Linked DNA regions of Homo sapiens: region 2 is linked to region 1. Evidence: promoter capture Hi-C in 16 types of primary human blood cells and fetal thymus (Javierre and others, 2016). All regions are on one chromosome and are shown on one strand. Each heading gives the region's core, a stretch centred on a gene start or on the middle of the fragment in contact. The rest is flanking DNA. Distances are from core to core; before and after follow the strand shown. Region 1 holds the start of CBFB (core-binding factor subunit beta). Region 2 overlaps LRRC36 (leucine rich repeat containing 36).

Evidence for each region. Contacts are between HindIII fragments. The CHiCAGO score rates a contact against its expected background, and 5 or more counts as called.
Region 2: a contact is called between a fragment that was not itself captured here and the fragment with the promoter of CBFB in region 1, in 1 of 17 cell types (erythroblasts). The highest score is 5.4, in erythroblasts.

The regions. Positions count from the first base shown.
Region 1 is chr16:67,025,923-67,030,959 of GRCh38, reverse strand. It overlaps CBFB (core-binding factor subunit beta), which reads right to left and starts at 1,811. Exons shown (of 6, transcript NM_022845.3): 1 at 1,475-1,811; 2 at 1,147-1,233. The coding sequence starts at 1,552. RefSeq lists silencers at 1,029-1,078, 1,329-1,568, 1,659-1,848 and an enhancer at 2,409-2,548. The HindIII fragment of the contact is 7,418 bases long and covers 617-5,037 here.
Region 2 is chr16:67,365,133-67,370,808 of GRCh38, reverse strand. It overlaps LRRC36 (leucine rich repeat containing 36), which reads right to left. Exons shown (of 14, transcript NM_018296.6): 7 at 5,454-5,505; 8 at 3,352-3,792. Among named protein-coding and RNA genes, the nearest start is that of TPPP3, 26 kb to the left of the region's middle. The HindIII fragment of the contact is 947 bases long and covers 2,417-3,363 here.

The DNA of each region.
Region 1 (5,037 bases), core at 562-3,061:
CAAGTCACCGAGCAGAGAGTAACAGCATTCCATTAGACAGTGCTTCAACTTTTTAAAAAATAATCAGGCCAGACGCAGTGGCTCACGCCTGTAATCCCAGCACTCTGGGAGGTCGAGGAGGGCGGATCACTTGAGGTCAGGAGGCCAGCTTGGCCAACAAGGTGAAACCCCGTCTCTACTAAAAATGCAAAAATTAGCCGGGCGTGGTGGCAGGCACCTGTAATCCTAGCTACTCAGGAGGCTGAGGCAGGAAAATCGCTTGAACCCAGGAGGCGAAGGTTGCAGTGACCCGAGATCGAGCCACTGTACTCCAGCCTGGGCAACAGAGCAAGACTCTACCTCAAAAAAATAGTAATAATCAACCTCTTTTCTTGGTTTCTTCCTACCACTCCCTCCTCATCAGCACCTCCAACAAGGCAAACCAAAAAGATGAGAGGAACTAGGACCCTTGGATTTTTTTTTTCAACCCAAGGTCTGGTGAAGACGCACTAAATCTGCCTCCTAAAACAAGGACCTCGAGATCAACCGTGGGTTTTGCCCATCTGTGCAGTTTTTAGGAACAGCAGCCCTACTCAGGACATGGGGATAATGGTTTCTTTCTGATTCTCCTGAAGCTTAACATTCTAAGAAAATGACATTTTTAGGGCCTTTTCCCCCCCCTCCCCTCTCTATTAGAATAAATAACTGGAGGAAAGATTTCTACTCGGCGATCTGGTAGTGAGACCGCTTGACACAGAGAATTACCGACAGATCTACCTTCTAAGAAACAAACTATCGCCGACCTTGAATGAAGCTCCACTTCTTTTTCCGAATGGGGGTTTGCTTGCTACAAATACCCTGAACCCTTCTTCGGTGTCGCCGCCTAAACAATGCCCTTCGCTTGTTTAGTCTGGCTCGGGTTCGAGCTCCACTCGCGGTGCTCCGTTGGCCGACACGCGCCACCGCGGCGAGCCCCAGGAAAAGCGTCTCCCCGCGAGTACCGGCCCGCGGCATCTGGTTTCGCATTTTGAATCCCGAGTAGGAAGTGAGACGGCGCCCACTCAGTTCCGGGAGCCGCAGCAGCCGCGCCGCCGTCCGGAACCGGCCTGGGCCGCCGCGGCCCCGCGCAACAAGTGACCCGCGCGCGCCCCGGGCCAGCCGACTTACGATTTCCGAGCGGCCGTCGCGGCAGGCGTTCTGGAAGCGTGCCTGGCGTTCCTCGTGGGGCCGGTCCCTGAAGCCCGTGTACTTAATCTGCAAGGCAAGACGGCCCGAAATCAGGAGCCAAATCCGCGGCGCCGCCCGCGCGCCCGCCCTCCCAGCGCAGCGCCGATAAGGGCAAGCAGAGGCTGCGGGCGATGGCCGCCCCGGCGAGATTGCCCCTCCGCGGGCGCACCGACCGGGACTCCCGGGGACCGTGCCGCCCAAACTTTTCTCCGCCCGGGCCCACTCGGGGCGCGCTGCGGCCTCCTAGCCGCCCGCCCGCCTGCCTCACCTCACACTCGCGGCTCAGCTTCCTAAAAAACTCCTCGTTCTCGAACTTGCTTCTCTGGTCGGGCACGACGCGCGGCATCTTCCCGCCCTGAGGCCGCGCCGGCCGGCCGCGCTCGGGGCTTGCGCGGGCACCCGCTGGCTGGCTCCGCGCTGACCGACTGACCGCCCACCCGCGGCGCCCGGACGCCCGCTTCCCTTTGTTTCAGGCGCCCGCCCGCGTGGGCTCCCGTTCCGGGGAGTCTGAGGCGCCGCCGCCCGCTCGAGCCCAACCCACGCCGCCGCCGCCGCCGCCGCCGCCTCAGCCGTTGCCTGCCGCCCGCGCAGCCCCAGCGCTCACCGCCCCCGGCCGCCGCCGCCGCCGCCGCCGCCACTTCCTCTCACCGCCCACCCCGCCCCCGCCGGCCCCACCCCTCCTCCTCGCGCGCCCGCCCGCCTCCAACTCCGGCAAACAAGACGCACCATTCACAACTCCGCGGCCCACGCCGCGCATGCGCCACCCGCCCGCTGGCGGAGCGGCCTGGCTGTGGCGCCCCGGGGCTCCTTCCGCATCAGGGCCCTTTTCCCCCTGCTCGCCCGCGGCCACTCGGCGTGGAGCTGTCGTTGGGGGATCCGCCTGGCCTTTAGCAGACGGGAGTAGCCAGCGCAGGCCTTTTCTACCGCCCTTCCTCGGTCATCTGGAACTTCTGGGTTCCCCAGGTGCGCGGAGTAACCCCAGATTGTCACTTGAACGCGAGGAAACCTAAGTCCTTGGGGACTTTTCGTCCCTAAACCGACCGGCAGGGGTGTAGGCTCTGCACGTTGAAGACTGAGGTGGAAACGGACCAAAGAATCCAACCGAGTCATGGTGGAAAGGTCGTGGCTTTTGGAGTCAGATGGGTCTTAGATGGGATCCCACTCAGCTACACTACCTGCTGGCTGGGGCCTTAGATAAGAATTGGACCACTAAACCTCAGTTTCCTTATTTCCAAAATGCAGACACTCCTAGGTTTGCAGTGTTAGCGTGAGAACCTTTATGTGGGTCTAGCACACAGTGGGAGCCCAATAAATTTAAGTTTCTAAAGAAGAACAAGCTGAGTTAAGAATGTAACCGATTGCCAGTCCATATACTTACTCAATGTGCAATCAGCTGCAAAAAATAAGATCCATAAATTCTAGGGAAGTTGTTTAGCCCAAACTGGAGAAAGTCTGACATGGGATTTATGGCAGAGTTTGATTCAAAGTTAGTCCTGTGGCCGGGCACTGTAGCTCATACCCGTAATCCCAGCCCTCTTTTTTTTTTTTTTTTTTTTTTTTTTTTAAACAGAGCCTCGCTCTGTCGCCCAGGCTGGAGTGCAATGGCGCGATCTCGGCTCACTGCAACCTCCGCCTCCTGGGTTCAAGTGATTCTTCTGCCTCTGTCTCCCGAGTATTTGGAATTACAGGCACCCACCACCACGCCCAGCTAATTTTTTTGTATTTTTAGTAGAGACGGGGTTTCGCCATGTTGGTCAGGCTGGTCTCGAACTCCTGACCTCAGGTGATCTGCCCGCCTCGGCCTCCCAAAGTACTGGGATTACAGGCATGAGCCACTGCGCCTGGCCTAATCCCAGCACTTTGGGAGGCCGAGGCAGGCTGATCACCTGAGATCAGGAGCTCGAGGCCGGTCTGGTCAACATGGCAAAACCCCATCTCTACTAAAGTACAAAAATTAGCGGGGTGTGGTGGCACACGCCTGTAGTCTCAGCTACTCGGGAGGCTGAGGCAGGAGAATCGCTTGAACCTGGGAGGCGGAGGTTGTAGTGAGCCAAGACGGTGCCACTGCACTGCAGCCTGGGCCACAGAGCAAGACTCCGTCTCAAACAGCTACTCGGAAGCTGAGGCAGGAGAATTGGTTGAACCTGGGAGGCAGAGGTTGCGGTGAGCCAAGATCGTGCCATTGCACCCCAGCCTGGGGAACAAGAGCATAACTCCGTCTCGGGGGGAAAAAAAATCCATGAGGAAGCACTCTTGCTCCACAATGGGTCCAAGGAGGGCTCACAGACCTCCAAGTTGATCTTGGCCAAAGACTCTAGCAATAATTGTTTCTGCCATGGGAAATGTGGAATAAATAAAAATTGAAAGATCTCTAGAATGGCCTTGATGGCCATGAGCTTAGGCAAGGAAAAGGTCAGGGTCAAGGGAGCTAGACCTGGAGGGGTGGGAGTGCAGAGCAGGGCAGGGCGCTCTCATTGTCAGCCTCAAGGAGGGGAGGAACGATGTCCTAAGGGAAAGGGACAGCAAAGCCTGCCAAGCAGACCCAGAACAGCAGCCCCACAGACAGCCTTGGGCAACTCCAGGCCACAGGGTAACCCACACTCGTCGTAGTCTGGCATCCAACAGCCAGGATGACCGGGAAATAAGCCACAGGCTGAAGGAGGCCATCTCCTCGGCTGACCTCTATATGCCTTTTTGGTTGTTAATTTTTTTTCACTTATTTAAAAAAACAGAATTAAAGGAAATTTATAAAGGAAATTTTCACCCATGTAAGGTACACTTAAGTCTGTGCTCCTAACAGCTTTGGCAGCTGTTGAGTTGGGTATGGGTTGGCCCAGACACCATGCTATGGGTGTTTGCTAAGGGGGTTTGCTAAGATCCAGCTCTACTAAGGCCCACTCATGGAGGCTTAGAGGTGTCTTTTCTGTGCCAAGAAACATCTGCCCCCACCGTCCCAAAACCTGACTGAATTATCTGAAGTCCGGTCATCTGGAATCTTCCTTTCGTAAGGATTCAAGCCAACCAAGGGCCTCCTCTTGAGTATCTCCCTAACTTCCTAGGTGGGTGGCTGCTCCTGCAGGCTCCTAAAGCTGATCTTGGGTGGGTAAGTAGATAATACACAATGAAGCTGAGGAGAGCGCAGGAACCCTCACTTGCCTAGTGCAACTGTGAAGCTCTGTTCAGGGTGCCTTCATGCACCTTATCACAGTTAATTCACACAACCACTTTCTTTTTTTTTTTTGAGACGGAGTCTCACTCTGTTGCCCAGGCTGGAGTGCAATGGTGCAATCTCGGCTCACTGCAACCTCTGCCTCCCGGGTTTAACCGATTCTCCTGCCTCAGCTTCCTGAGTAGCTGGGATTACAGGCGCCTGCCACCACGCCCAGCTAATTTTTGTATTTTTAGTAGAGAAGGGCAGGCTAGTCTCGAACTCCCAACCTCAGGCAATCTGCCCGCCTTGGCCTCCCAAAGTGCTGGGATTACAGGCGTGAGCCACCGCGCCCGGCCCACACAACCATCTTCTAAGTCAGGTCTTCTGTCTCCTGAGAGATGAGGAAACAGACTTTGAAAAAGTAAATAAGGCCAGGAGCGATGGTTCACGTCTGTAATCCTAGCACTTTGGGAGGCTGAGGCGGGTGGATTGCCTGAGCTCAGGAGCTCGAGACCAGCCTGGGCAACACAGTGAAACCCGGTCTCCACGGAAATACAAAAAATTAGCTGTGCGTGGCAGCGTGTGCCTGTAATCCCAGCCACTCTGGAGGCTGAGACAGGAGAATCACTTGAACCCGGGAGGCAGAGGTTTCAGTGAGCCGAGATTGCACCACTGCACTC
Region 2 (5,676 bases), core at 1,641-4,140, 340 kb before region 1:
CCAACTCTGGTTAAATCTAACCGTCCACATGTTCCAAGCCTACACCAGAGCAGGGGAACATAGCTGGAGAAAAAAACGCATCTGTTCTGACCTTTCTCACTTTAAACTCATGACCACTATTGTAACTGCGCCCTTAGTGGTGCCCAGTTCTTCTGATTTTTTTTTTTTTTTTTTTTTTGAGAGAGTCTCGCTCGATTGCCCAGGGTGGAGTGCAGTGGCACAATCTCGGCTCACTGCAACCTCTGCCTCCTGAGTTCAAGATATTCTCCTGCCCCAGCCTCCCGAGTAGCTGGGTCTACCCACCATGCCCAGCTAATTTTTGTATTTTTAGTAGAGATGGGGTTTCACCATATTGGCCATGCTGGTCTTGAACTCCTGGCCACAAGTGATCTGCTGGCCTTGGCCTCCCAAAGTGCTGGGATTACAGGTGTGAGCCACTGTGCCCGGCATCTCCTAATATAATACTCTGGCCAATTTACTCTTCTATTCTCTGAGACAAATATTTCACATCTCTCTTCAAACTTCCAACACCTTCTCTTCCCTCCTTACACCCAGGTGCCAACCTCCTTTATTTCCCTGAGAGGCAATCAAAGAAAACATCTACATGATCACACCATCAAATCTACCAACTCTCCTGTATCTGTATTAATAAATTCTCTGCCTTCCTTCTTATTACAATAGATGAACTATCTGTGCTTTTATTTAAAACCAGCCTCTCCACTGGTGGACTGGATTCCATTTTCTTGTAACGGTCCCTTTTCTCCCTGGCATCATCAGTTTTCCCTCTACTAGATCACTTCTACCAGGATCTCCTTGACCCCATCCCTTCTCCAGCTAGTTCCATTTCTCTGCTTCCCTTTACTGCAAAACTCCTTGAAGGGGTTGATATGGGTTGGCTGTGTCCCCACCCAAATCTCATCTTGAATTGTAGCTCCCATAATTCCCACATGACATGGGAGGGACCTGGTGGGAAGTAACTGAATTATGGGGGCGGGTCTTTCCCATGCTGTTCTTGGTGATAGTAAGTCTCACGAGATCTGATGGTTTTATAAAGGGGAGTTCCCCTACACAAGCTCTCTTGCCTGCCACCATGTAAGACGTGACTTTGCTCCTCATTCACCTTCCACCATGATTGTGAGGCCTCCCCAGCCATGTGGAACTGTGAGTCAATTAAACCTCTTTCCTTTATAAATTACCCTGTCTTGGGTATGTCTTTATTAGCAGTGTGAGAACAGACTAATACAAGGGTTGTCTATATTCAGTAACTTTACTGCCTTGCTTCCAATTTTTTTCTTGAATTCACCTCAGTGAGGCTTTCATTCTCATGCATCCCCTGAAGCTGTTCATTAATGTCTTCTTCATTGCCAAATACCATAATCACTTCTCAGTCCCAGGCTCCCTCCCTCCCTATCAGGAGAAGCATTTGACCTAGCATTGATCACTCCCTCCTTCTTGAAACACATTCTTCACTTGGCTTCCAGGATATTACTTCCTCTTGGCTTTTTCCCCTCTATCTTACTGGCTGCTGCTTTCTCACTCTCCATGATGGTTTCTCTTTATCTACTTCTAATTGTTGGAGGGCTCAGGACCAGTCCTCAGATCTCTTTTCTATCTATATTCACTCTTTTGGTGAGATTTCATCCAGTCTCAGAGTTTTACTGTCACCCATACACTTATAATCTCCAAATTTATATTTCCAGCCATACCTTCTTCCCTAAACTCTGGACTAGTATGTCCAATTACCAAATTGGCATCTCTGGAAAGTTTTAATAAGGCACCTGAAACTTAAGATGTCCAAAACCCAACTCTTGATATTTATCTTAAAATCTCTACCTCCCATTCTTTTCCATCTTAGTAAATGAAAGCTCTGTTCTTCTAGTTATTCAGACTCAAAACCACAGAATTACCATTGACCCTCTTTCTCCCACACTTTATCCTGGATCCATCAGCAAACCATGGAGTGTCATCTTCAGAACATATTCAGAATCTGACTACTTCTCACCACCTCCACCGCTATCTGTCTAGCCCAAGCCATCATCATCTGTTACGCTGATTCCAATCTCTCCAAAGCATTTTAAAAAAATTTCTACCCTCCTCCCCATAGTCTATTCTCAGCCCAACATTCACAGTAATTCTTAAGTGAGATCACATCACTCCCTTGCTACAAACTCTCCAACTCCTTCTGATCTCACCCAGAAAAAAGTCTGGCATCTTTCTTACTTCATCTATACACTCTACTTTCTTTGCTGAGGCCGCACTGGCCTCCCTGAGGTTCCTTGTACATGAAAAGTATGTTCCAGCCTCAGGACTTTTGCATTTATTCCCACTGTCTAGAAAGTTCTCCTCCCAGACCCACATGGCTTATACTCCCACTTCATTCAAGTCTCTACTTTTATGGTGCCTCATCAGAGAAGCTTTCTGGACCATTCTATCTAAAGCATCGCCTCCTCCTTATCACGCTCTATGCCCTTATATAATTTTTTCACAGCATTTACCATAACCTGACATATATTTGCATGCTAAAATGTTTATCATGTGTCTTACCCCATGAGAATGTAAGCTCTATGAAAGTAGGGACTGTCTTCTTATTATGGTAAAATATACATGGAACTTTATTTTGGTTGCTACTTTATCTCCAGAGCTAGAACAGTGTCTGGGACACTGTAGGTGTTCAATGAGTTTGGTTGAATAAATAAGTAACAGAAGAGTGATCTCTGTCACTAACTCTGAAACTAACTTCTGTTTTTGTTTTCAAGATGGAGTCTTGCTCTGTTGCCCATGGAGTGCAGTGGCCCGATCTTGGCTTACTGCAACCTCTGCCTCCCAGGTTCAAGCAATTCTCCTGCCTCTCAGCCTCCTGAGTAGCTGGGATTACAGGCGCATGCCACCATGCTCAGCTATTTTGTGTGTGTGTATTTTTGGTAGAGACGGGGTTTCACCATGTTGGCCAGGCTGGTGTCGAACTCCTGACCTCGTGATCCACCCGGCTCAGCCTCCCAAAGTGCTGGGATTACAGGCATGAGCCACCGTGCCCAGCCTGAAACTAACTTCTTCTGAAAGTAAGTCAGAATAGAAGTGACTGTGAGTAAAGACTAGATGTCCTGGGATGCTGCTTAACTAAAATAGCAAGTAGCTGCAATGCTCACTTTCCTACAAATTTTCCCTAATATATATATCATGTTAAACTCATACCCTACAGATTTCTCGAGGTTCCAAGAACCACTGGTGACCCTAAAATACAACTTAAGAAATGCTAATACAATTTCAGAAGGGTTAATTCCAAAATTTTCACTTATATCTTCTATCTTCATGCCTATGAAGAAGACCTGTAAACTGACAGGAAGCTGTTACCTGAACTAAGCTTCAAAAGCCTTCCAGTGCTGGAGTCAGGGTTTGACAGAGAAGTTAATAAGTCTCCACAGGAATGTGAAGCGGTGGTCTTTATGTCATTTGAAGGCTTTATGCTATACTCTTGATAGTTCTTGCTTCTCTGAGGCCTTTTACCAAGACTTCCATGCAGGGATAGAGTTTGAGAATAACAACTGTCATAATTTTCCAGACCAACATCTGAAGGTAACTGATAGGGATGGATCTGGCTAGAATCACCCACATCCAGGCATTTACTCAATGAGGCATCATGGGTAAGATGAAAAGTATCAGGTTTTGGTATCAATTCCTTTTCTGGAGAAGAACCTGAAGACTTATTGTCCAAAAAAGATACTTGGTACCCTTCTCTAGTCATCTTCTCTGGGGATCGGACTGTGGACTGACGAGGCGAGTAGTGTCTGAACTCTAAACACCACCAAGGCAAAAAAACAAAACATGATAAGAATTCTTTGTGGCCTAGCTGGGAGTACCTCTGTTCACTGAACATATTCTCTGTCTGCCAGAAACACCTCTCAGGAAGAGGTGGTTTATAATTCTGATCAATGGTAGCATAAAGTGATGAAAGGACTTCCACATGGAACACCACCACCACCAATAAAATGTGGGACTTTTGTGTAAACAGTAAAGAATCTATAACATTCTGGAGACAAATTCTGTTTCTTTTTTTTTTTTGAGACAGGGTCTCACTCTGTCGCCCAGGCTGGAGTGCAGTGGCGCAATCTCAGCTCAGTGCAACCTTCGCTTCCCAGAGGGAAGCGATTCTCGTACCTCAGCCTCCCGAATAACTGGGATTACAGGCACATGCCACCATGCCCAGCTAGCTTTTGTATTTTTAGTAGAGATGGGGTTTCACCGTGTTGGCCAGGCTGGTCTCCAACTCCTGACCTCAAGTGATCCACCCGCCTCGGCCTCCCAAAGTGCTGAGATTATAGGCAAGCACCACCATGCCCGGCTAATTTTTGTATTTTTTGTAGAGATGGAGTTTCACCATGTTGGCCATGCTGGTCTCAAACTCCTGACCTCAGGTGATCCACCTGCCTCGGACTCCCAAAATGCTGGGATTACAGGCATGAGCCACTGTGCCTGGTCCGAAAAAAATTTTTTTAATTAGCCAGGTGTGGTGGTAGTCCTAACTACTTGGGAGGCTGAGGTGGGAGGATTGCTTGAGCCCAGAAGTTTGAGGTTATTATGAGCTCTGATTGTGCCACTGTACTGTACTCCAGCCTGGGCAACAGATTGAGAACTTGTCTCAAAAATAAAAAAAATTAAAAAAAAAGAGAGAAGGAAGTGGGAAGAGAGAGAGAGAACGAACTGCCTAGAAATCTACACCCATCTAAAATACCCTTCAAGAATGATAGTGAAATAGAGGCATTATCACACAAAGAAAAGCTGAAAGAGCTCATCACTAATAGACCTACATTAAAGTATGTGCCACTGTAAGGCAAAGGAAAATGATATCAGAAGGGAAGCCTGGGAAGAAAAAGGAAGTGAACAAACAGTAGTAAATTAATGGATAGATTTAAATCTACACTGACTATATAAAAAATAATATCTTGTGAAGTCTTTAAAAATATAGAGAATTAAAATTCATAATAACAACATATAAGTCAGGAAAGAGTAAATGAAATAAAGTACTGTACGGTTTTTGAATTATCCAAAAGAAGACTTAAGGTATTAACAATTTAAAAATTATGTAAGTTAAGGATACATATTATCATTTGGGGAATAATACTAAAAGTATAGAAAATGTATATAACTTATAAACCAGTAGAGAGAAACAAATGGATGAATAAAAAATAATAAATACAAAAGAAGGCAAGAAAGGTAACAAAAAGAATAGTCATCCAACGCAAAAAAAATCAAGAACAAAGGAGGTCAGAATATGCACTCTTTAAGCAGAAAAGTCTCACAGGTTACTAATCATCCAGGACAGTCCCTCACAAAAGCAGAAATTAGTTGACTAAATAGGGCCCCCATATTGAGACATCTTCATCTCCCAAATCCCATCACATCCAGACTTCTCTGATTAGTGTGGGGGAAAAATACTCAGTGAGCAAAATATTTACCATCTTCCTGGTGATTGTCACTTGGCATCTCCCTTCTTGCTACTTCCTGTGTCTAAAAAAAGTTCGAAAGTTTAGGTAGAAGGAAGTCCATGCGCGTTCAAATGTGAGCTTATTAGACTAGGGGTTCAGAATACCTTCCTATTAATGGGAAAGACTATCCTTGCAAGCTAGGGAAACAGACCTTTAAGCAAAGGTCCAGTTTAAGTCTATTTTAAAACAGTCA